Regions from separate parts of the Homo sapiens genome. Here all the other regions are linked to region 1. Evidence: promoter capture Hi-C in 16 types of primary human blood cells and fetal thymus (Javierre and others, 2016). All regions are on one chromosome and are shown on one strand. The core of a region is centred on a gene start or on the middle of the fragment in contact, and the rest is flanking DNA. Distances in the headings are between cores, read along the strand shown.

Region 1 (6,546 bases), core at 546-3,045:
ATTAGGGATTCCCAAACCTGATAGGGTACTAGAAACACACAAGGAAAATTCAAAGATATTAACTCAAAAGCCTCACCCCCAGAGATTCAGTACGTCTGGAGCAAGGCCCTGGAATCTACTTTTCTTTCTTCCTTTTTTTTTTTTTTTTTTTTGAGACAGGGTCTCTGTTGCCCTGCCTGGAGTGCAGTGGTATGATCACAGCTCACTATAGCCTCAAACTCCTGGGCTCAAGCGATCCTCCAGCTTTGGCCGCTCCAAGTGTTGGGATTACAAGTGAGGGCCACCGCACCTGGCCTGCAATCCACTTTTCTTTTCTTGAGATGGAGTCTCGCTTTGTCGCCCAGGCTGGAGTGCAGTGGTGCGATCTCGGCTCACTGCAAGCTCTGCTTCCCGGGTTCACGCTCTCCTGCCTCAGCCTCCCAAGTAGCTGAGACTACAGGCGCCCACCACCACATCCGGCTAATTTTTTGTATTTTTAGTAGAGACGGGGTTTCACCATGTTAGCTAGGATGGTCTGGATCTCCTGACCTCGTGATCCGCCCGCCTCGGCCTCCCAAAGTGCTGGGATTACAGGCGTCAGCCACCGCATCTGGCCCGGAATCTACTTTTCAAAGTCTCCTAGATAAGTCTGGTTTGCAGCCAGAGTTAGGGGGCCAAAGTTCTGTGAGTGTTCAAGTAGCACTAGCCCAAGTCAACCGCTTCCAAAAAACTGCAACATACACAGGGTTTGACATCACATGGGTAGGGCAACAGAGAGAAATGGCATCAGATCACCACAAAATGTTCTCCGACTGGTACCCGGAGTAGCACTGACCCTGAGGCCCAACAGTGGAACTGCCACTATCTTAACCTGCAGTCACCAAACATGCAAGGAGTGGGCTGCAGCGCCCCATGAAGCAGGGTGCATAGCTCCCCACTTAATAGTTGTGTGACCCTGGAAAGTGACTGTGCCTCCTAGTCTGTAAATTCCGAAGAATAATAGGATCCACTTACTAAGTAGGGCTGAAGTAGATAACCAGGGTGGAACGTTTAGCTCAGTGTCTGACTCACAGCGCGAGCTAAATAAACGTCAGCGCCTGACTGCTAAATGTTCGGCCGCTTTCTTAACTAACATCTATGGACGCGTCCTCTGGGCCGGGCACTGGAAGTCAGCCAGGAGGCAACTCACAGCTCCCCCACTGTCGCAGCACGAGGGGCTCCCCAGGGGCTCTGGAGGGAAAAGGGGTGTGGTCGGGTACATCTATCAGCACATCCATGAATACTGCCGTATGTCCTATGATTAAGGAACCAGAAAAAAAGGCAGCTCCCAGATGGCAAAGGTCTGTCCTCCCAGAGGACGAGGCGGCCTCGGAGGAGGGGAACCACCAGGCTGAGCAGATGTTTGGGGCAGCCCTGACAGGGAAGGCGGGTCTGGAAGAGCAGCTGGGCACGTGCCCCGCCGGAGCGGGCCAGGAGAAGAGGACCAGAGCATCAGGCCCACACTTGTCCCTGCGTCCACGGCCACCAGGCGCTCCCCAATGCGCACGCCCAAGGGACGCCAGGCTCCAGCAGCCGCCCTGGGCCGCAGCCGGCGGCGAAGCCGCTGGGAGACGACCAGACAGGGCGGGGTGCGGGCCCGGCCTCACCACCCACCTCTCATCCGCCATCACGATGGCATCGAATATGTCCTGACTGCCAGCCATAGCGGCAAGCAGCCCGCCCTTGGCCCCCGGGTTTCTGCAGCCCCGCGGTGCCGTAGCAGACCCGGCAGCTTCAGGCACAAATGCTCCGCTTGGGAGGAGACGAGACCCACTTCCGGAAGCGGCGGCGCGGGGCAGGCCGGGTAAGAACGGCACGCGGGAGGGCCCAAAGCAGCCTGTACATGGCGCATGCGCGGCTGCAGCGGTGGGCGGGGCCGGCCTCGACTGAAGCCCCGCCCTGGGGTCCTTTCGCCCTGCCCAGCTCCAGCAAAGGGCCTGTCTGTCCGCGCTGGGAGCGTCCATTGGCCGCGCGCGTGGAGAGCCGACCTGTATTTTACCACTGCAGATAGAACCGAATTTCCCAAAGTGGCTCCGAAAGAACCAAGGAAGAAATGGGAAGTCATCAGCTGGCGCGGTGGCTCACGCCTGTCATCCCAGCACTTTGGGAGGCCGAGGCGCGCGGATCACCTGAGTTCGGGAGTTCGAGACCAGCCTGGCCAACATGGTGAAACCTCGTCTTTACTGAAAATACAAAAATTAGCCGGGCATGGTGGCAGGCGCCTGTAATCCCAGCTACTCGGGAGGCTGAGGCAGGAGAATCACTGGAAGCTGGGAGGCGGAGGTTGCAGTGAGCCGAGATCGCACCACTGCACTCCAGACTGGCGACAGAGCCAGACTCCGTCAAAAAAAAAAAAAAAAAGGGAAAAGAAATGGGAAGTCATCAAAGAACCGACGCCTCAGGAGGCTCCAGGCCAGGAGGCTCTGCATGTGGGATTTTGGGCAGAAATTTGTCGGTTTTAGTTCTCATATTTGTCATTTCCATGAGATGTGCTTTCTGAACACGATTTTTAAAAAGGGATTTCAAAGTCTAAGCGACAACGGAACTCAGATGAGAAACACCAGAAGCATTCCTAATAAAGTCAGTAGTAAAACCTCACGTGACCACTGAACATCTTTCTACCAGCCCTGGCCAATGCAGTAAAACATGAAGCAAGAAGTGGAAATACCAAAAAAAAAAAAAAAAAAAAAAAAAGGCAGAAATACTACTATTTGCAGATATGATGGCCCACGTGGAAAACCCAAATAGTCACCTAAGACGTTCTCAGAATCCATAATCGCAGCAAGTAGCTATGTGTATGATGAATAGGGAAAAAAACACTTTCTGTTATTCCAACAATAATTGGTAGTAACCTGAGCAGGGGTGGTGATGGGAAAATCGCCTTATGATAGTCATAATACATTTCTTAGAAATAAGAATTTCTAACAATTTGAGCAGGACCCATATAAGGAAAACTACAGCTCTACCATGATTGAGGATTGGGGAACTGAACAAGTGCAGTACCAAAGAAAATTCCATGAGATCTGGTAAAATGTGTCAAAATCCTAAACTTTTTCATCCGTATGAATAAACTAATAAAAATAACTAAGATGTTTTAGAAAAAAATGATTTTCATATCAGATATGAAAAGATAAAGTGTCAATATAAATATTGTGGTATGTTGGTTCAAGAAGTGGCAGACCAGTGAAATAAAGTAAATGGCCCAGACAATGGACTCTCATAGATGTAAAGCCTTCTCATGTGGTAAAAAGAAGAATTACAAATTAATTGGAGAAAGGAAATATTAACTAATAACTATAATGGAAAATTGGTTGTTTGGGAAAAGCTTGGTTCCATTTATGCCTCACACCATTCATCAAAATAATTCCAGATGAGTTAAAGAGTTAACTTAAAAAAATTAAGCACATTGGCTGGGCACGGTGGCTCACGCCTGTAATCCCAGCACTTTGGGAGGCCCAGGCAGGTGGATAACCAGAGTTAGGGAGTTCGAGACCAGCCTGACCAACATGGAGAAACCCCGTCTGTACTAAAACTACAAAATTAGCCTGGCGTGGTGGTGCATGCCTGTAAGCCCAGCTACTCGGGAGGCTGAGGCAGGAGAACCCAGGAGACAGAGGTTGCAGTGAGCCGAGATCACACCATTGCACCCCAGCCTGGGCAACAAGAGCAAAACTCCATCTCTAAATAAATAAATGAATAAAGCACATTTTGCCTGTAATCCCAGCACTTTGGGAGGCCGAGGCGGGCGGATCATGAGGTCAGGAGATCGAGACCATCCTGGCTAACATGGTGAAACCCCGTCTCTACCAAAAAATACAAAAAAAAAAAATTAGTGGGGCATGGTGACGTGTACCTGTAGTCCCAGCTACTTGGGAGGCTGAGGCAGGAGAATGGCATGAACCTGGGAAGTGGAGCTTGCAATGAGCCGAGATCGCGCTACTCTACTCCAGCCTGGGTGACAGAGCGAGACTCTATCTCAAAAAAAATAAAATAAAATAAAAATAAATAAATAAATAAATAAAATAAAGTACATTAAAAAATCTAGGTGGAACATTCAGACAAGTATGAAGATGCTCTTTTAACACATAAAAGCCATGAAGGAATTCTCAGCAAGCAAAACCAACATTTTACCATGTAAAAATGCAAACTTGTGTGTACCAAAAGTGATAAGAAACAAAATTTAAAGTTAAAGAACAATATGGGGAAATATTTGTCATAAATATTGTAACTAAAGAAATAATAATTCTGGTAAAGAGTTTATTTAAATACATGTATTTATTTAAATAAATACATCCTAACGGGGAAAAAAAAGGACTTGAAACATTATTCACAGAAAGAGCAACAGCTGGCCAATCAGGAAAAGCAGACGCAGCCTCACTAGTAACCAAAGCAATGCTGAGAAAGAATAATGAGATGCATTTTTTATCTTTTAAAATAGCTTAAGTTCTTTTTCTCCTTTTTTAGAATTAAAAGATACTCTTAATGAGCACAAGTGCATACATTGAAGACACCTCTTGGTCAGGCAGTTCAAAAACATAGGAAGGGCATTATATATATATATATTTTGTTTGTTTGTTTGTTTGTTTGTTTGTTTGTTTTTACTAGCTAGGCGTGGTGGGTCACGCCTGTAATCCCAGCACTTTGGGAAGTCAAGGTGGGTGGATCACCTGAGGTCACCAGTTCCAGATCAGCCTGGCCAAACAGTGAAACTTCGTCTCTACTAAAAACAAAAATTAGCCGGGTGTGGTGGCACGCTCCTGTAGTCCCAGCTATTCTAGAGGCTGAGGCAGGAGAATTGCTTGAACCTGGGAGGTGGAGGTTGCAGTGAGCCGAGATTGTGCCACTGCACTCCAGACTGGGCGACAGAATGAGACTCTGCCTCAAAAATAGAATAAAAAAGTTTTTTTTTGCCCCTGGACCTAGTCATTTCACTTCTAAGACTTCATCTCTAGGAAATAATCAAAGACAAGTCAAAATATTATGTACAGTGTTGTTCAGTGCAACACGATTTGTAAAAGGCAAGGCAAGGAAAGCAGCTACATTGACAAAATGGTGGAATTATGACATGTATTGTAGGCTATTCATGTTGAAGACTCCTAAGCAACCATTACAAATAATATTTCAACAAAAGTAACATCATGGAAAATGCCCATGATATTTCAAGAAAAAGAAAAAAAAATCCTCTATGTGAGGCTGCAGTGAGCTATGACCATACCACTCCACTGCAGCCAGGCCAGGGCAACAGAGTGAAATCTCATCTCAAAAACATAAAAAGAAAGAAAAAGAAAAAGAAAAAAAAACACTCTACATATACTCGAATTGCAATCACACTAAACACTATTTCAAAAGAATGAGAGTAGCCAGGTGAGGTGACTCACACGTATAATCCAACACTTTGGGAGGCCAAGGTGGAAAGATTGCTTGAACCCAGAGTTCAAGACCAAGCTAGGTAACATAGTGAGACTTCATCTCTACAAAAAAATAGAAAAAATTAGCCAGGCACGGTAGTGTGCTCCTGTAGTCCCAGCTACTTGGGAGGCTAAGGCGAGAGGATTGCTTGTTCTCAGGAAATTGAGGCTGCAGTAAACCGTGATCGTGCCACTGCACTCCAGCCTGGGCAACAGAACGAGACCCTATCTCAAACAAAACAAACAAACAAACAAACAAACAAAAAACCAGAAAAGAAAAAAGGAAGAGAAAAAAGAGTGAAAGCAAGTACAGCAAAATGTTCATAGAGAATATAGCTAGATTTTGGAATGACAGTGATTTTTTTAATGTCCTCATTTATATTTTTTGGAACATCTCATGTTTGTTTGCACAATGAACATAAGTTATGTTATAAGCATAAAAAAATGTTTTTGGTGGATGAAATTAAATAGACTTCGTATTATTTTGTTCTGAAGATGTCTTTAATTTTTAGGTTTTTTAAATAAGCAAATGAAATCACACAACACTTGGAATATAGGAAAAAGGGAAAGACAGCAAGCCAAAAAAAACAGTTCACCCTGTCCACCAACTGATTTTTGCTAATTTTATTATTTTTCCCTTGAATTTTCATATAAACATAATTTAATATATAAACAATGTAATATCCTTCTCCCTGCCCACTTAACATTAGATTACAAACACCTCCCAAATAAGGGAACTGTTCTCTTATCAGTACATATTTAAAACACATTTTTGAGCATAAATTTCATTAGCTGAAATAAAATAAAATAAATATATCTTTTGGATAGGAAAATAGATAACGCGGTGAGAAAAATAAATGACCACTTACAGAATAAAGCCCGTGGACATGGAGGCTTATACAGAAGAGCGTAGGTTTTAATTTCTAACTTCAAAAATATTTGCAAAGCCTTGAACAATTATATGTGCTACAAAAATCAACACTATTGATACAAATTATTAATCTGAAATAAAGCTTTGGGGAGATTTTCTGTCCCCAATCATCAATTTGTTCATCTGGTTTGTTCTTAAAATATTTATTTTGAAGCCAGACTGTCTTAGCATTAAAGACAAAGAAGGGCC
Region 2 (6,219 bases), core at 768-3,267, 530 kb before region 1:
TGCTTAGAACTGACAAATAATTTGTATGAAGAAAAATTTTTTTTGTTGTTGCTGTTGTTTTTTTGAGATGGAGTCTCGCTCTGTCACCAGGCTGGAGTGCAGTGCCATGATCTCAGCTCACTGCAATCTCTGCCTCCCGGGTTCAAGTGATTCTCCTGACTCAGCCTGCCAAGTGGCTGAGATTAAAGGCGTGCACCACCACGCCCAGCTAATTTTTGTATTTTTAGTAGAGACGGGGTTTCACCATGTTGGCCATGATGGTCTCGATCTCTTGACCCCGTGATCCACCCACCTTGGCCTCCCAAAGTGCTGGGATTACAGGTGTGAGCCACCACGCCCGGCTGCTATAGGTTTTATTATTATTCAGATATGATGAGGCCAACAGATCAGGAGATAACCATTATTGAAAAGATAGTTTGTTACTCACAGATCTGCAGGGGAGGGGACATGCTGCACCCCGGGGTGGATGGGGGGCACAGGGAAGCAGGGGAGTTGGTCTGGAGGGATAGGGACTAAGGGGAAAGTGTGGGCAAGAGCCTTGATTGTGGTTTCTGTAGGAAAAAACGAGTGAGGCAGGGCAAGTAGGCATAGGATGGGCTAGTTTGAATAATGTTACAGGCTCTGGGGCACAGGGACTGTCCCTGCCTGTCTGGTACCTGGCCCTGGGGTGATTATGGCAGGAGGATGGTAGCCCTGAGTATGAGAACCTGATAGAAGAGGTCGTTGCAAATGTGAGCTCTGGATTAGTTAGTTGGTTTACATTTGAAAGGTGCACTCACAGATGACTTCATTTCTAGAAATTGGCTAATCCTGGGAGGGGCCATCCCTCCAGGGTCAGCACGTTCCCAGATGTCAAAGCATCAGAATACAGGAAAAAGAAGTAATGGTTAATACAATGAAGAATGCCTACAAATTCCTAAGAAAAAGAAACAACCAAAGACTCAACTGGTACTTCACAAGAGAAGAAACCCCAAAGGCAATCAGCATAAGAAAAGTCAATATGAAAATGCAACCCCGAACTATACCGAGACACTATGTCTCACCCACCAGCTTGGCAAGCACTCAAAAGCCCGTGTTGGTGAGGATGAGAAGTGTCAACCTTAAACAGTGAGATTCAGAAACTATGATTAAATGTAGAGATTCTTTGAGCCCAAAGCATGAGGATAGCCACTTGGGCAACACTGACTCCAAACAAATGGGGTCACTGTTTCAAAGTGGAGAAGTTAAGATTTCTCTTACATAGGCAGAGACAGAGAAATTTCAGCAGGATTACAACATTTTTCATACACGATCAGTGCGTACAGTGACTTGATCGGTTACAGATTGCTGCATTCCAAGGAAAATACTTTATTACTCCATGAGGAGGGGTAGAAATTCAAGGGATTCTTATCTCTGAAGTCGTTTGGTCTTCTTAATTATTTATAGGGAAAAAAAAAGGTAGAAGTTGCAGTTGCATTCCATGTGACTCAAGTTGCATAGCCATGTTCCTCTCAAGGCTCTGAATACAGTTCCAACAGCTTTAAGTCTGAATTCTTTAATTTCACAGAAGCAACTGGAAGGAACCCCAACTAAGCTATTGTTGGAAGCGTCCATGAAGCCAGATGCATATTCCCTTCAGCTAAGCGTATATACTCGTAGGTATGTTCCCAAGAGAAACCTCTAGCATGTGTCTTTATTTAAACATTTTTGGTTGAGTATACAATTCTAGGTAGTCACTTCACTCTAGCACCTTAAAAATGTCATTCCACTGTCTTCCGCTCATCCATTGCTGTTGAGAAGTCAGCTGTGGGCCAACCTTGCCTCTCTGGCTGCTTCTAAGCTACACTCCACTGTAATAATCATTCTTGATGTCCTGTAATTTGGTATCTTGAAATCATGAGCCAAACTATAGCCAGGCTTGTTTCTATCCTTACTATCCTTGTGTTTTCATGGGTGCACAAAAATCATATCACAAACCCTCTGGCCACAACCCCCAACATCTGTGTTTTGCCTTCTGCCCCATAGGAGACACCCTCACTTAACTTTCCACCACCAAGGGGAGAGTCTTGACTACTATGGTACTTTATTACTATTATTACTATGTCAATAGTAATAGTAGTGATAGTAAAGTCTCCCCTTGTGTTCCCCTGCTCCCTCTGCCTCCTGACCAACCCTCGTCCTTCCTCATGTAGACTGCATAGCATGGCATGCCCCCTGCTCCTGGGAACTGTAAGTAATAAACTTCTTTTAAGGCAGCTGTCTCCATGTCTGTCATGTTAATGTACCTGATTAAAACAAAATCCCAGGTACATTTAAAAACACCTCTTGGTATTGTATGGTGTCACTATGATGTCCCCAGCTATGGATTGCTTATCACTCATCCTAGGTTGGATTCTTTGGGATGCCCAAATCTGGGGATTGATGTTTTTCATCTGTTCTAAAAACTTCTCAGCCATTTCCCCTTCAGATCTAGCCTTTGCCCTATTCTATTCTCTTCTACTGGAGCTCCTAGGACCATACAGTGTAGCTTTTACTCCACCCCTCATGCCTCTTGGCAGCTCCTTCTTGTCTCCCATTGTCTCTCTGTGCTGTATTCTGGGCCATAGCTCAGATCTGTCTTTCCGTTCACCAACATAATTTTCAGCCATGTCTGACCATCTGTTAGTATCACTTAATATATTTTCATCTCTGGAATTACATTTAGGTCTTTCCAAATCTGCTTGGTCATTTTATAATCTCTTGTTCTTTATGTTTTAAATATTTTCTCTTAATCCTTTAATCATGCTTATTTTATATTATATTCTGATAATTTTGACAGGTCTGGGTCTGATTCTACTTTCTGTTGTTTCTTCTGACAGCAAAAACCTTTTGATAGATTATGTTCATCTAGAGGTTATTCATGCTAACATCTCCAGCTGCACGGTGGAGCTTTATTTTTCTTCTTTTATTTTTGGTTTTCTGTTTTTCTTTCTTTCTTTTCTTTTCTTTTTTTTAAACTCTTAGCATGGTGGAGCTTTATGGCATATTCTGAGCAATGTCCTGGTTTCTATTGCCTTCAGTTGCATTGCCCAATGTGGGACAGGAAATCTCACATACACAACAGCTTCTTGTTTCAGTGCTGCATTGTACTGCAATATTTTTGAAGATTTGATTTAATTTAATTTAATTTTATTTCCCGAGACAGAGTCTTGCTGTGTCACCCAGGGTGGAATGCAGTGGCGCAGTCTCGGCTCATTGCAACCTCCACCTCCTGGGTTCAGACGATTCCCCTGCCTCAGCATCCCGAGTAGCTGAAGTTATTTAAAGTGAAAATTAGGGATTCAAACTTAGGTTATGAGTCAACCACGTGTGGGGACGCAAGGCAAACACCCGGTAGAGGTTGAATAGATTACGGTTTATGCTCAGCTGGGTTCATACAAAAGCAGGGAATGGCAACTTTATTTCTGTCTCCTCCTTTCTGCAGGATCTGAAAATGAGTTTTAATATCTACTAGAAGCTATACTTGATTTCAGAATTATCAAAGTATGAAAAATACATGCCTTAGAACTGAGGACTTATGGGATTCTAAGTGTGCTGTGCCTTGAGGGAACCCCAGTGGCCTTTGATCCCACATGGGCCATCAAATAGCGAGTAATGTCCCTACTTTGAGTGGTCATGTCCATTCTGAAAGGTCCACCAATTCTCAGTATGAGGTCCTCTGAATGTGCTGATGTCTGGTCACACACGGGGGATCAGTCAGGCTGGGCTAAGTCAGTTAGGTGACACATGACCCCATGGCGCAGTAGCTCTCAGCAGCATGGGTGGATTTCTCGGCCATGTTACGCATCCCACCTGGGTCGGCTGAGACTGCTCCATGCACTCTTCACTCCAGGCAGGGCAGCCTCCTTCCTGGAAGGAAAAGGAAGAGGGAAAAGAGAACGTTGCAAACCATGCCCTGGCTTATTTATTTATTTATTTATTTATTTATTTATTTATTTTGAGACAGAGTCTCGCTCTGTCGCCCAGGCTGGAGTGCAGTGGCGTGATCTTGGCTCACTGCTACCTTCTCCTCCCGGGTTCAAGCAATTCTTCTGCCTCAGCCTCCCAAGTAGCTGGGACTACAGGAGCATGTCACCATGCCTGACTAATGGTTTTTGTATTATTAGTTGAGACAGGGTTTCACCCTATTGGCCAGGCTGGTCTCGAACTCCTGACCTCATGATCTGCCTGCCTCAGCCTCCCAAAGTGCTGGGATTACAGGTGTGAGCCACCACACCAGGAAGCGACAGGAGTATTTCCTCCCTTATCTCACTGGCCACTCCTGAGTTCAGTAGGGTGGGGACAGGCAGTCGTCCTGCAGGGCAGGGAAGCCGGGGCATGGGGGAGGAGTGATAGAGCCACCTCCCCTGGCTCAGCATCTTTGCCTGGGGCTCTGCTCAGTGACAGGAGCCTGGGTGTGAACTTTCAAGTCAGGGATCCCAGAGGCAACAGATACGTTCCACCTCTCTGAGCCTCGCATGCTTTACAAGTGCCAGAAATGGACGTTGGATACGGAGGCACCGTGTGAGTTGTCACACCCTCTGTGACTATACAGGTTGTTGGTGTTTTCGTCTTTGTTAATCGCCCAACAGTGCTCACTGCTAAGGAAATGTAACAAAATGTAACGTGACGTTCAGTGTTCAGCGGGACTTGGAAATGTGTTGCACGTGTGTGTGCAAATAGGTTAGAGGTGGGGGCCGGCCACATGTGCTCTGCTTCTCGTCTGCCTTCTTGGAGCGCCCACAGTCATGTGTGTACCTCAGCCCTCAGCGGGTTGGTCAAGCTTGGACTTTGCCTGTGGAACCAATGCAGGGGCTGCTGAGCTCTTCTGATTCTCTCTCGGGAGCCTGGGGCTGGGAGGCCAGCAGCAAAGTGTGGGTGCTGGACTTATTTATGGGTGAGGCTGACAGTGCCTTTAGGCTCAGGCAGAGCAGAGGGAGCCAATGAGCAGAGAGAAAGAGAAGGTGGAAGAAGTCAGGCAGAGAGACCCAGTGCCTTAGAAGGAGAGGTGGCCACTGTGCTTCCTGGTGAGGTTCCAGGGGATGTGCCTGACCTAGCCCCCAGCCGGGGGATGTACCTGGGCTAGCCTCCAGCCACGGGATGGGCCCAAGCTAGCCTCCAACGGGGGTCATGCTGTGTTTGGAATTGGTTTCTTCCGGTGGATTCTTGGTCTCCCTGACTTCAAGAATGAAGCCGCAGACGCTCGCGGTGAGTGTTACAGTTCTTAAAGATAGTGTGTCTGGAGCTTGTTCCTTCAGATGTTCAGATGTGTCCGGAGTTTCTTTCTTCTGGTGGGTTTGTGGTCTTGCTGACTTCAGGAGTGAAGCCACAGATCTTCGCAGTGAGTGTTACAGTTCTTGAAGGTGGCACGTGGGAGTTGGTTGTTCCTCCCAGTGGGTTCATGGTCTCGCTGACTTCAGGAATGAAGCCACAGACCCTCGTGGTGAGTGTTACAGCTCATAAAGGCAGTGTGGACCCAAAGAGTGAGCAGCAGCAAGGTTTATCATGAAGAGCGAAAGAACAAAGCTTCCACAGCATGGAAGGGGACCCGAGTGGGTTGCCGCTGCTGGCTTTGGTGGCCAGCTTTTAGTCCCTTATTTGGCACCCCCACGTCCTGCTGATTGGTCCATTTTACAAAGCACTGATTGGTCCGTTTTTACAGAGTGCTGATTGGTGCAATTACAAACCTTAAGCTAGACACAGAGCACTGATTGGTGCGTTTTTACAGAGTGCTCATTGGTGCATTTACAAACCTTTAGCTAGACACAGAGCGCTGATTGGTGCATTTTTACAGAGTGCTGATTGGTGCATTTACAAACCTTTAGCTAGACAGAAAAGTTCTCCAAGTCCCCACTCGACCCAGGAAGTCCAGCTGGCTTCACCTCTCAATGCCTAGGCTAGCAGCTAGCCACAGGACAAGCCCCAGCTAGTCTGAAGCCAGGGGTCACGCCTGGGCTAGCCTCCAGCCAGAGGATGTGCCAGAGCTAGCCTCCAGCGGGGGTCATGGCTGGGTTAGCCTGAGCAGCCTCCTCTTCCTGGTAAGTGAACACTGTCACCCACTGACAATGGAGTCTCTGGGAGGCTCTGAACACATGTCGCTCAGGGTGGCTGTGAGACCACAGCATTTCTTTCTCTCTCTCTGTTTTTTTTTTTTTTAACTTTTATTTTAAATTCAGGGGTACATGAGCAGGTCTGTTACATAGGTAAACTTGTGTCATGGGG
Region 3 (6,773 bases), core at 474-2,973, 530 kb after region 1:
TCATGGATGAACCTTGAAAATGATGCTGAAAACAGCCAGACACAAAATGCCACATACTGTATGGTTCTGTACACATGGAATGTCCAGAATTGGCAAATCCATAGATTTTAAAAAGTAGATTCGGCAGGGCACAGTGGCTCACGCCTGTAATCCCAGCACTTTGGGAGGCTGAGGCTCACTTGAGGTCAGGAGTTCAAGACCAGCCTGGCCAACATGGTGAAACCCTGTCTCTACTAAAATACAAAAATTAGCTAGGCATGGTGGCAGGCACCTGTAATCCCAGCTACTCAGGAGACTGAAGCAGGAGAATTGTTTGAACCCGGGAGGTAAAGGTTGCAGTGAGCCCAGATCGCACCACTGCACTCCAGCCTGGCCATAGAGCGAGACTCTGTCTCAAAACAGCAAAAAAAAAAAAAAAAAGAAAGAAAGAAAAAAAAAGTAGATTCGTGGTTGGTGGGGGAGGGGAGGAGTACATGCTAATGGGTTTCTTCTTGGGGTGATGAAAATGTCCTAAAGTTAGACAGCAGTAAGGGTTGCACAACCTTGTGACTACACTAAAAACCACTGAAGTATAACTTTAAAAGGGTGAATTGAATGGTATGTGAATTATATCTCAAGAAAACAAACTCAGCTGGCATCAGCCCCTGCCCCACCCTGTGGTAAAGCTGGGTCCTTGTTGGCTGGTGAGGGCTCTCCTAATCTGCACCCCCTCCTCACCTCCAGACCCACGGCATTGCTGCTCCTGGAACCCCAGCCGTCCCCTGTGCTCTGCTCTTCTGTTCTCCGTGTGCCCAGCTCTTCCCCCCACACCTAGGTACCCGGCCCCTCCCAGCCTTCACCTGCGCCTTTACAGAGGCCCCATCAGACCACCGGGCCCCCCACCCTCCACACGCCCACCCCGTGAAGAGACTCCCTTTCCCCTGGCTCTTCTGAATTTCTGGCATACTATACGATTTCCTTATTTTTCCTTATTTTTATTTTTTAATAGAGACGGGGTCTCACTATGTTACCCAGGCTGGTCTCGAACCCCTTGTCTCAATCAATCCTGCCTCAGCCTCCCAAAGTGCGGGCATTGCAGGCTGAGCCACCACGGCCGCCACGACCTTCTCTTCTGGAGCGTGTCGCTTTTGTAATTATGATGTAAACTCCGGGCACGCGGGGACCCTCGCGCTTCGCTCACTAATTTGTCCCCAGACCCTACTACCTGGCACAGTAGGCGCTCAATACTGTTGATTGAATAAACGACTGCTACTTTGGAAATCATGTATTATTTAAATCACATGTTTAAACGCACATAAACTTCTGAGTAGTGTTTTCTGCACACACAAGATGTCTCCAGGGGCACCAAAGAATGCATTTTCCACGTTTGTCCCTAAACGTTAATGCATAAGTAACCTTGGTCACCAACAGATGTGAGGGCACGTGACGTTCGGGCTGCGCCCTCCCCGCCCCGGCCCTGCACACAGTAGGGCCGCACCGCGCTTTGCAAACAGGTGGACTCGGCAGAGGCGCGACCGCCCTCACCGCAGAGAGCTGGGCCACCTGCAGGCTCTCAGGACACCCAAGGCCCCACCTCCCACCCGGAAAAGAGACGATACGCCGGGCGCAGGCGCAGAAGCCGCGCCCGTCCGCGGCGCCGCCAGCCAGGGCGGAAACGGCTGCGGCTTCGCTAGGGACGCATGCGCGGGTCCCTTAGTTTTCGCGAGATAACGGTCGAAAACGCGCTCTTGTCGATTTCCTGTAGTGAATCAGGCACCGGAGTGCAGGTTCGGGGGTGGAATCCTTGGGCCGCTGGGCAAGCGGCGAGACCTGGCCAGGGCCAGCGAGCCGAGGACAGAGGGCGCACGGAGGGCCGGGCCGCAGCCCCGGCCGCTTGCAGACCCCGCCATGGACCCGTTCCTGGTGCTGCTGCACTCGGTGTCGTCCAGCCTGTCGAGCAGCGAGCTGACCGAGCTCAAGTTCCTATGCCTCGGGCGCGTGGGCAAGCGCAAGCTGGAGCGCGTGCAGAGCGGCCTAGACCTCTTCTCCATGCTGCTGGAGCAGAACGACCTGGAGCCCGGGCACACCGAGCTCCTGCGCGAGCTGCTCGCCTCCCTGCGGCGCCACGACCTGCTGCGGCGCGTCGACGACTTCGAGGCGGGGGCGGCGGCCGGGGCCGCGCCTGGGGAAGAAGGTGGGCGCGGGGCCGGGCCGGGGGAGCCAGGGCCTGGTCGCCCGGCTGTAGGTGCTGCGAGGCTCCTCCGGTTGGCCTCCAGGCGCCTCCCCTTTGCCGGGTTTGATTTGCGTGGGTTTTCTCCGTACAGCCCTGGTTTTGCAGATGGGAGAGCCAGAAACGCAGAAAAGTTAACTTATTCGAGGTTGCAGGGCGTGGACACGCACAGTCCTTTTTCCTCCACCCACTTCTGCCCGGGTAAATTAGAAAACTCACTGAAGAAAAGATGAGTCAGAGAAGGTGTGGGGGAGGGGCAGAGGTTGGGTGAGCCTGCCTCGCATCATTTCCTTTCTGTCTCGGAATATGCTTTTCACGGCTGTCTGAGAGTAATACTAGCATTCAGTAACTCCTACCCAGGGGCTTACAGTGTGCCGCTTACCCTTGTAACTGCCAAATACAATTTTCGCAGTAGCCCTGTGGCTTAGATACTGTTAGCTATCACTGTTCCCATTTTACAGAGGACAGGACTGTGGCTCACAGGTTAAGTGGCTTTGTCGAAATGCGCAGCCGATAACTGACGGAGCTAGGCTTGAGCCAAGCAGTCCGGCCTCCGGATGGGTAGTGTTAGCCACTACACTGCCTCTCTGGTCAAGTTCATTGTGGAGTGGCTTCCTGTCCTGCTCTCGGTCACTCCCTCTCCACCCTCGCCTGTGGATTGCAGCAGCTTCCAGGATAAAAAAGAAACCCTGAGTACAGCAGAGTTTCTCAGCCCTACCCCCCTTGTTCTCAGAGTCGGGAGAGGCTTGGGAGTGCTCTGGGGACGCCTCTCAGAGGCTTCAAGCTGTAGCTTGGAATCAGCCATTCAGTCACCAATCAGATAGGGCCTAAATGTGTCACCATGGGTTTCACTCTGTAAAGACTGGTGCCTGTTGGGGACAGGATGGACAGAACAGCTCTCTGCCTGAGAGCAGTCAAGTCCAGATTTTAAAAAAAATCAGTACTGAACAAACAAAACAGGACGTAGAAAAATCGGGTTTTATGGATATTTAATGTCTGGAAAAACACTGATAAATTGCATTTTAAAGGCGGTCTACGAAACATAGCTGACATTTGAGATGTATGTGTGCTTGGTTTTATTTATATCGTCATGTAGTTACTGTGTGCTGGGAAAAGTACACCAGAAGGTGAGCGGTGGGTATGGACAGGTTGGTAGCGGGCGACTCTGCCTTCCTCCCCAGAAGTTCAGCATAGCGGTTAAGGGTCGACTCTGGCACCACACTCTTAGGGTTTCAGAACATGGCTCTGCCATCGTCTAGCTACACGATCTCAGGAATGTCCATTAGCTTCCCTGTGCCTCAATTTCCTCATCTGTACAGTCATGGTAACACAGTGCCCAGCCCACAGGGCTGTCAGAGCTGCGGGAGCTGGTACACCTGCCAACGGTGTCTCAGAATTGCCAGTAGTCCAAGCAGCACCCTGTCCTGCCTCTCCTTTCCTCTCTTCACATTCCAGAAGCGGCCTTTTATGGTCTTGTGACCAGCTCCCTGATCTCAGTGGTGACGTCAGCAGATGAGGAGTATGGTAGCCAGGGACTGAAGACTGGTGGTCACTCGGGGCAGCTTTCTAAATAACAATTGGAGTGCCTACTAGTTTCCTGTGATTGCCATAACAAATGATCACAAATCTGGTGGCCTGAAGCAATAGAAATCTACCCCCTCAATCTGGAGGCCAGAAATCTGAATAAGCAGGGTGCCACAGACCGGCACACCCTCGGAATGCTGTTGGGGAGGCTCCTTCCGGGTCTCGTCCGCTTTGTGGTGGCTCCAGGCATTCTTTGACTTGTGGCCGCTTCACTCCAGGCTCACACGGCCTTCCCTGTGTGTCTCCTGCAAGGATACCTATCATTGGTGCATCCAGGTCATCCAGGATGATCTCCTCTCAAGACCCTCAGCTTACCTTTGCAAAGATGCTTTTTCCAAAGAACATTCATGGTTTCAGCAATTTCACGTGAACATACCTTGGGGTGACATCGTTCAGCCTGCTGTAGGGCAGGATGTGGGATCAACCCTATTTTCTTCCCTCCCACAACTCCCCAGCCCCTCCCTCAGTGTCTCCTGCTCTAAGTAGGTAGCTCCACTACAACTTCCTTTGGCACTTGAGTCTTCAGTGGGCCACGCCTCCTAGGACAGTATTAGAGAGCAGGGGGTTTGGCTGAGGTGGAATCAGGCCACTCTTGGGCATTTGGTGCAGCCCCTTTGCTGCCAGGCGACTCTAGCCTCTACAGAGGACCTCGTGTAGGCACCTCTGTCCACTCAGCACTTGGCGTCTGTGCTGAAAAGCCCTAGGGAGGATTGTGGGGTCGCTTGTCTCCAAACCTATGGTAAACCGTTCTGTTCTTTCCTTCCCAGACCTGTGTGCAGCATTTAACGTCATATGTGATAATGTGGGGAAAGATTGGAGAAGGCTGGCTCGTCAGCTCAAAGTCTCAGACACCAAGATCGACAGCATCGAGGACAGATACCCCCGCAACCTGACAGAGCGTGTGCGGGAGTCACTGAGAATCTGGAAGAACACAGAGAAGGAGAACGCAACAGTGGCCCACCTGGTGGGGGCTCTCAGGTCCTGCCAGATGAACCTGGTGGCTGACCTGGTACAAGAGGTTCAGCAGGCCCGTGACCTCCAGAACAGGAGTGGGGCCATGTCCCCGATGTCATGGAACTCAGACGCATCTACCTCCGAAGCGTCCTGATGGGCCGCTGCTTTGCGCTGGTGGACCACAGGCATCTACACAGCCTGGACTTTGGTTCTCTCCAGGAAGGTAGCCCAGCACTGTGAAGACCCAGCAGGAAGCCAGGCTGAGTGAGCCACAGACCACCTGCTTCTGAACTCAAGCTGCGTTTATTAATGCCTCTCCCGCACCAGGCCGGGCTTGGGCCCTGCACAGATATTTCCATTTCTTCCTCACTATGACACTGAGCAAGATCTTGTCTCCACTAAATGAGCTCCTGCGGGAGTAGTTGGAAAGTTGGAACCGTGTCCAGCACAGAAGGAATCTGTGCAGATGAGCAGTCACACTGTTACTCCACAGCGGAGGAGACCAGCTCAGAGGCCCAGGAATCGGAGCGAAGCAGAGAGGTGGAGAACTGGGATTTGAACCCCCGCCATCCTTCACCAGAGCCCATGCTCAACCACTGTGGCGTTCTGCTGCCCCTGCAGTTGGCAGAAAGGATGTTTTGTCCCATTTCCTTGGAGGCCACCGGGACAGACCTGGACACTAGGGTCAGGCGGGGTGCTGTGGTGGGGAGAGGCATGGCTGGGGTGGGGGTGGGGAGACCTGGTTGGCCGTGGTCCAGCTCTTGGCCCCTGTGTGAGTTGAGTCTCCTCTCTGAGACTGCTAAGTAGGGGCAGTGATGGTTGCCAGGACGAATTGAGATAATATCTGTGAGGTGCTGATGAGTGATTGACACACAGCACTCTCTAAATCTTCCTTGTGAGGATTATGGGTCCTGCAATTCTACAGTTTCTTACTGTTTTGTATCAAAATCACTATCTTTCTGATAACAGAATTGCCAAGGCAGCGGGATCTCGTATCTTTAAAAAGCAGTCCTCTTATTCCTAAGGTAATCCTATTAAAACACAGCTTTACAACTTCCATACTACAAAAAATTTTCTATTCCTGTTGGTGGTTCTTTCATTTTGGATATGCTGGATATTCCCAGTACAGCCAGTTTGAGGATCCCTGTCAAGGGCTCCAACCTGGGAGGGGTGGCTGGATTTCCTGACAGCTCGCTAGCTGCTCATGAGCAGTGTCTGCCCTTAGCAAACAGTGGTCTGCTAGGGTAGCTTTTGCCGCTCTTAGAATTTGCCTGCACCACCAACAGTATCAGAATCAAAGCCAAGTGGCTATTCTCTGTCCCAGTTCACCAGCTATGACCTTGGGAAAGTCCAGTGTGCCGTCCCATAGGTGGGATCTTAGCCAAGGCCGCAGGACACTGTCCCCAGTAAGCCGTGGACCCCGGCCTTTAAGCCCCTCCACACCTTCACCTGACGCTTCCAGGTGCCAGACTCCTTGCTAGGAGCAAAGGCCATAGGAGTGAATGGGACAGAAGTGTAGCCCTGCCCTGTTGGCCTCAGAAACCTAGCAGAAACAAGCTTTAACCAGTTCATCACTAGCTTGGGGTGCTGCCGTGGCGCTGAGCTGGTTGCTATCCCAAAACAGCGTGGCCTGACCTACACACTGTACACCCCCGACCCGGCGCATGCCTGCTCTCAAGGCGCAGGTCAGGGTGAGTTCTATAGAGAATAGACACATCGCCCCTCACTGTCCCTAAGTGTGAGCAGCTTGGCTTTGGGGAAGAGATTTTCTTGGGGTGCGTGGGAAAGTATTCTTTTTTTTTTTTTTTTTTGAGATGGAGTCTCACTCTGTTGCCCAGGCTGGAGTACAGTGGCATGATCTCGGCTCACTGCGACTTCCACCTCCCAGGTTGAAAGGATTCTCCTGCCTCAGCCTCCCAAGTAGCTGCGACTACAGATGTGCACTACCAAGCCTGGCTAGTTTTTTGTAGTTTTAGTAGAGACAGGGTTTTACCATCTTGGCCCGGCTGATCTGGAACTCCTGACC
Region 4 (6,209 bases), core at 2,560-5,059, 580 kb before region 1:
CTTATTTCCTGTGTCTTCAGGTGTGTGGCAGGGGGCCTGGGGTGGGGAGGTGGGGCGAGCGAGCAGTGTGTGGAAAGCCTTGTTGTCACCTGAAGCACGCCAGGTCCAGATTGACCAATGGTTTTCTCACTTCAGGGGCCAACCCACGCCCCCTTTCTGCTGAGGTTTGGGTGCCATCTAGTGGTGGGATGGGACTTGGTTGACTACATTTAAGGTAAGGTGGACCCAGCAACTCCCAGAAACAACTCCGGGGACACCACTCCCCATCACACTCCACACCGAGCCTGGTGCCCGGTCTGTGCCCGAGCTCAGCGGGACCAGGAAGGGATGGGCCCTGCCAGGGTTGCCCCTGCACTGTGCATTCTCGCCTGGGAGGCACAAGTTCTTTCATCTGCTTTTCCTTCAGAGGTGCTGAGCCCACGCCATAGCCCCTGTGGGATGGTGGGGGAGGGGGCGACCCGAACAACAGTGCAGTCGGTATCGAGATTGGGGAGAGGAGCGAGTCCAAGGAGAAGGTCATGAGTTTCTTTTTACTCGTGTTGAATAATAACAATAACAATAACAATAACAATATGGAAACCACCGCAAACTTGGAGAAAAGTTGTAAGCACAGTAAAGAGAAGCTTCCTTCTGAGTCACTTGAGTGGTTGCCGTTCTGGCCCTGCACCCTCTGTGCTTTGGGACGGCGTCCAACCCGCATTCATGTCAGGAGTGAGTCGCACGTGGCTTTGTGGTCATGGCGACTTAATCCGCCTGGACGGTGGCTCCGTCTCCCTGGGCTTAGACGACCTTGGCACTTCTGGAGATAAGCCCATGGCTCCCAGGTTGTGTTCATGTGACGTTTCCTTGTGGTAGGTTCTGGGTCTGCGTTTCGTCTAGGAGTGTCACAGGATGGACACTGCCTCCTGGCAGGGGCTGCCCAATGCAGTTAGCCTCCTGCTGGTGTTCTCTCTTGTTGCTTGGTGAAGGTGGCCCTGGTCAGCTTCTCCACTGCCCAGTGAACGACCCCTTTGTAATGAATGAGTGGGGAGGTAGTGTGAAGCGATGCCAATATCCCATCCCTGTCAAACTGCCTTTACTTTTTCCTTCCTTCCTTGCTCCCACCTGTGTGGATCCTGGTCCCTTCTTGTATTCAGGGCTGTGGTCTGTTATGACATTTACTCTCAGGCTCAGGTCCTGCTTGTTTGGCCCGTGGGAGCCCCTTCTTCTGCCTTTTGTGTTTTTTTTGTTATGTACCTACAGTTCTTTAGCTGTTTCTTTACTTTCTGGTGCAAAAAGATGTTCAAGCCTTATTTTATACTTGCCTGCCCCTTTCTCTTTCATTTATTGGAGTGAGCTGCAGCTCTAAGAAGACCTGTTCTTTTGAATGGAGAGTAGCATCAGGAACCAGGATGTGGGTGCGAGGCGTGCTCCTGGCTGTTGCAGATTGCTGCACCCGGGAGCTCTTAGTGGACAGAGCTAGAGGATATGTGCACGTACTTCCATCTCTCTCTCTGTCTCATCTATTCACAGCTGGGAATGATACTAATACCTCCGATTTTAGCCCAGCACCACAGGGTACGTTCCAGTTTTTCTCTCTTTCCATAGCTGTAAGGCCCTTTCTGGGAATGGTTCTCATTCTCCTTAATCTATTATTGGGTCAGTTTTCCTGCATGTCCCCAGCCTCCCATCACTGCCACCCACTCCCCACAGAGATGCCCTGCTCATCCGACTGGGGCTTTGACTCCCACACTGTGTACCCCTCTTGTGTGGACGCCCTGCTGCCAAAACCTTCAGCAAACAGCTTTCCAAATGGAAGTTGTCACTGTCAGGGCCTTTACAATCAGCAACAGCAAAATCTACATGCTGCTGAGGGTCCTGCCTCATTAAGATGCAATAAATATGTAAGTACATAAAAACAGCAATAGAAGAAACGTAATGCTTTATTCTCAAATATGATGTCTACATAGAAAAGCCAAAATTATTAAGAATAGTAAGAATTCACCCAGCACTTTGGGAGGCCGAGGCGGGTGGATCATGAGGTCAGGAGATCGAGACCATCCTGGCTAACAAGGTGAAACCCCGTCTCTACTAAAAATACAAAAAATTAGCCGGGCGCAGTGGCGGGCGCCTGTAGTCCCAGCTACTGGGGAGGCTGAGGCAGGAGAATGGCGTGAACCCGGGAAGCGGAGCTTGCAGTGAGCCGAGATTGCGCCACTGCAGTCCGCAGTCCAGCCTGGGCGACAGAGCGAGACTCCGTCTCAAAAAAAAAAAAAAAAAAAAAAAAGAATTCAGCACAGTTGTTTGCTATGAGATTTAAAAAGTTTTTACTTTATTACTTATTCATTTATTTATTTTAGGGTCTTGCTCTGTTACCCAGGCTGGAGTGCAGTGGTGTGATCATGGCTCACTGCAGCCTCCAACTTGTGGGCTCAAGCAGTCCTCCTACCTTGGCCTCCTGAGTAGCTGTAACTACAGGCACATGCCACCAGGTCTGGCTAATTGTTTTATTTCTTGTAGAGATGGAGTATCTCTATGTTGCCCAGGCTATTCTTGAATTCCTAGGCTCAAGTGATCCTCCCACCTTGGCCTCCCAAAGTGCTGAGATTACAGGTGTGAGTCACTGCACCTGGCCTGCCCTGAGATTATATACTGAAATCAATTGCTTTTCTAGACACTAGCAATAAGCTTATAAATTATATTCAAGGATTCAGTTATATTCATTTTTTAAAAGATATTTAAATAAGATTAAAAATTCTTAAAGTTTCTAAAAATAAATGGAAGGAAAGATATTCAAGGCCTATATACAGAAAACTATAAAACTTCATTAAAGCCCATGACTGTAGATACAAGTAAATTGAGACTATGTAGTTTTCTGTTGCTGTGTAACAAGTCCCCACATACTTGGTAGCTTATCACAACCTCATTTCTTAGCTCCAAGCTGCAGGTCAGACATCCAGGCACGGCTTGGTAGGTCCTCCGTTCAGCAGAAATTGGGGTGTCAGTGGGCTGGGTTCCTTCTGGGAGCTCCGGGGAAGAGTCTGCTCCCATACTCACTTGGGTTGTTGGCCAAATGCAGTTGCTTGCAGGTGTTGGGCTGATGTCCGTTTCCTGCTGGCTGTCAGCCAGGGGCTGCTCTTAGGGACTAGAGGCCACCCACATTCCTTGCCATAGGGTCCCCTCCATCTTCAAAGTCAGCAACAAAGAAGCTGCCTCACATTGACTCCCACTCACCCTTTGAATCTCTAGGAAAAGCCTGTGTGGTTTACAGTTTCACCTGATTAGGTCAGACCCACCAGGACAACTGCCCATCCTTAAAAGTCCTGTGTGCCACCTAACATATCCCAATTCCGGGAGTGACTTATTCACGGGAGGAGATTATGTAAGGGTAAGGATCACTGGGGTCATCTTGGAATTCTGGCCACCACAGTTTTTCTATCTTCATGGTCAAAAAGAATTGATATTGTAAAAATGTCAGCCTTCTCCAATTTCATCCATACATTCATTATAATTCTAAACATAATGCCATTTTTTTCCCACAAAATTTGATAAGTTGATTGAAAAATTAACATGAAAGTACAAAAACAAGAGCAAAAATCCTTTCTGTGGGAGAATCCAGTTGAGGGAATTGCTGCTCCATTATTCCTGACTTACATTGCTGGGACAGCAGCCACAGCAGTGTGGTCCTGGTGCAGGAGCTAATCGGCTAAGGGGAGAGAGCCCGGGAGCCCCGCACACCGGCGCAAGGGCGAATCTACTAAGGGGAGAGAGCCCGGGAGCCCCGCACACCGGCGCAAGGGGCGGATCGGCTAAGGGGAGAGAGCCCGGGAGCCCTGCACAAATGCGGAACTGCGACGGATGGCAGCAAACCCGCAGGGAAGGGATTGTTATTTAATAAATGCTGCCAGAAATTCCAGCCCAGGTGGGAAAAGAAAGAAATAAGTTCCCTGTTTCACACCTAACACAAAAGTACATACCGACTGGAGGCGGGCTTAAGTGTGAAAAGCAAGTTTTAGAACGTTTAGAAGATGAACTCAATATATTTAAATTAAGAACTTCTTTCTTTAAAAAAGGCCATAAAATAGGCAAGCCACACACTGGGAGAAGATTTTGGTAACTGAGAACAACTAAGAACTTATATCCAGACCACATAAAGAGTACCTACAAATTAGGAAGAAAAAGACAAAGCAGTAGAAAGTTGGGCTTTTCACAGAAAAGCAAACACCCGGGTTCCATAGCTATGTCAAAAGTTGCTCCGTCTTACTAGTTATTAGGAATATGCAAAATGAAACTGAAACACAACATTTCACTCACTCCATGGTCAAAATGGAAGAGGTTGGACCATCTTAATTGTTAGTACTTACATGTTTATTCTGAAGAGTCAAGCTAAGCTGAAACAACCTCTTTGGAAAATTGTTTGGTGTCATTTCTTGCAATTGAATAGGACATACCTTGGTAATTCTCTGCTAGATACACTCACAAGAGAAACTGCTGCCCGTGTGCACTGGAAGACGGTCGGCAGAGTGATCCTAAGAGCAGTATCAGTACTAGCAACACATCTGCCAGCTGAAACGTCCTCAACAGAATGACAGGTACGCTGCAGCTTGGTGACAGTGGAGTATTACACGGCCGTGAACATGAATGAACTCCAGCTGCAAAGAGCTACCTGGAAGAATCTTAGAAACATAATGTTGGGTGAACAAGTTCCAGAAGTCTCCACACGGCACGGTATTATTCATGTAAAATTCAAAAGCAAGGTTAAACAACATACCATGTAGGCACGCATACATCAGTGATGAGGTTACTTCAACACAAGACAGCCTGAAGCCTGTGGTCCAGTCAGTGCTGAGATTACTTCAACACAAGACTCCCAGAAGCCTATGGTCTGGTCAGTGCTGAGATTACTTCAACACAAGACGCCCAGAAGCCTATGGTCCGGTCAGTGCTGAGATTACTTCAACACAAGACGGCCAGAAGCTTATGGTCTGGTTAGTGCTGAGATTACTTCAACACAAGATGGCCAGAAGCCTATGGTCCAGGGAGCGGCCACCTCTTGGGGAAATGGGGATGGGATGGGAAGGGACTGACTGCCATGAGCAAGTTCCAGGGGAAGTTCTTGTCCTGGCGGGGCTGGGCAGGGCTCATGGTCATGGTATTAACCTTAGGAACATGCACATGTTACATGTGTTCTTTTGCATGTGCCAAATATTAAAAGGAGAGCGAGAGGAGAGGCACTGAAGACAGTGAGGATGGACGGCCCTCAGGGAATCTCGCTGCAAAGGGGAGGCGGGGTCAAGAGGATATTGTGGTGGTTTTCACGTGGGAGGATCCTGTGTGGACTGATGTGGAAGACCCAGGGAAGAGCCAGAGAAGTGACAAAGCAGGAATGAGGAGGCCAGGCAGGGGTCAGCCACAGGGACGTTGCTGGGCAGTGGCAGGAGGTGCAGTGCCAGGGGCAGCAGTGGGGCAGAAGTGGGGCGGGGCTTGGCAGGGCTGGGCAGGGCCGGGCTGGCAGGTCCTCTGCCCCCAGGGCTCAAGCACAGGGCTGACCAGAGCAGCAGTTCTGCCGGCCCCGCAGGCCTGGTATCACTAGTGGGAGCACTCAGTGGCCATCAGGTTCCTCTCCCAGGTTCCCTCCCACATGCTGTCCCCAGTGCAGGTGGCTGGATGGGGTCCAAGACCCATGCCCAGTCTGTCGCTGGGGCCTGGGAGCGGGGTCTTAGCGAGCAGGCTGGGGCCTTTCATGTGGTCTCTGTCCAGCTGGGCACAGCAGGGGGAATCTTCCCTACTGCCAGAACGGCTTGGATTGGGTTTCCCGCCTGAGATAATTAGTGGTTCTTAGGAAAAGGTTAGAAGAGTTCTTGCTTAAAAACCACCAAATGGGACTGGGCACACTGCACTGCTCCTAAAAATCAAAGAGGAGGCGTGGAGCCCAGACAACACTCCTCACATCAAAGTGGCCAGCAGACGGCCCAGGGCAGCGGGCACAGCCTCCTGCACGCCTCTCCCCAGCCCTCTACTCACGTTTCAGGGTGTGTGTGGGGGGCCAGCTATTCTTCTGAGTAATTCAATCGGAGCCTCACAGGGTGGTGGGACCCACACCTGTGGGGGTTCTGGGTAGGCCTGGGTGCCTCCACAGTTCCGACCACAGTTGGCTAATCCACACCTGGGCCTGGGCCCCAGCAGCACCTGTTGCCAGGTGAGCCTGCCTGCCTGCCTCCCAGGCCCTG

What was found. The method cuts DNA at HindIII sites, captures the fragments that hold promoters and counts their contacts. A CHiCAGO score of 5 or more calls a contact.
Region 2: a fragment that was not itself captured here is called in contact with the fragment with the promoter of LTO1 in region 1 in 1 of 17 cell types (endothelial precursors); the score reaches 7.7 in endothelial precursors.
Region 3: a contact is called between the fragment with the promoter of FADD here and the fragment with the promoter of LTO1 in region 1, in 17 of 17 cell types (naive CD8 T cells, naive CD4 T cells, naive B cells and 14 more). The highest score is 17.6, in naive CD8 T cells.
Region 4: a fragment that was not itself captured here is called in contact with the fragment with the promoter of LTO1 in region 1 in 16 of 17 cell types (endothelial precursors, megakaryocytes, total CD8 T cells and 13 more); the score reaches 24.2 in endothelial precursors.

The regions. Positions count from the first base shown.
Region 1 is chr11:69,673,558-69,680,103 of GRCh38, forward strand. LTO1 (LTO1 maturation factor of ABCE1) reads right to left here and starts at 1,796. Exons shown (of 5, transcript NM_153451.3): 1 at 1,633-1,796. The coding sequence starts at 1,682. RefSeq lists a silencer at 1,378-1,467 and enhancers at 1,588-2,088, 1,958-2,157. The HindIII fragment of the contact is 5,284 bases long and covers 1-3,341 here.
Region 2 is chr11:69,143,874-69,150,092 of GRCh38, forward strand. It overlaps LOC338694 (a long non-coding RNA gene), which reads right to left. Exons shown (of 3, transcript NR_104161.1): 3 at 3,355-3,867. Among named protein-coding and RNA genes, the nearest start is that of SMIM38, 9.0 kb to the right of the region's middle. RefSeq lists a silencer at 1,030-1,089 and an enhancer at 4,838-5,337. The HindIII fragment of the contact is 5,522 bases long and covers 1-4,778 here.
Region 3 is chr11:70,201,573-70,208,345 of GRCh38, forward strand. It overlaps FADD (Fas associated via death domain), which reads left to right and starts at 1,724. Exons shown (of 2, transcript NM_003824.4): 1 at 1,724-2,173; 2 at 4,561-5,818. The coding sequence starts at 1,888. The coding sequence ends at 4,901. RefSeq lists silencers at 2,134-2,213, 2,263-2,454. The HindIII fragment of the contact is 16,091 bases long and covers 1-6,302 here.
Region 4 is chr11:69,088,698-69,094,906 of GRCh38, forward strand. It overlaps TPCN2 (two pore segment channel 2), which reads left to right. Exons shown (of 25, transcript NM_139075.4): 25 at 1-1,900. Among named protein-coding and RNA genes, the nearest start is that of MIR3164, 8.6 kb to the left of the region's middle. RefSeq lists a silencer at 56-195. The HindIII fragment of the contact is 2,289 bases long and covers 2,666-4,954 here.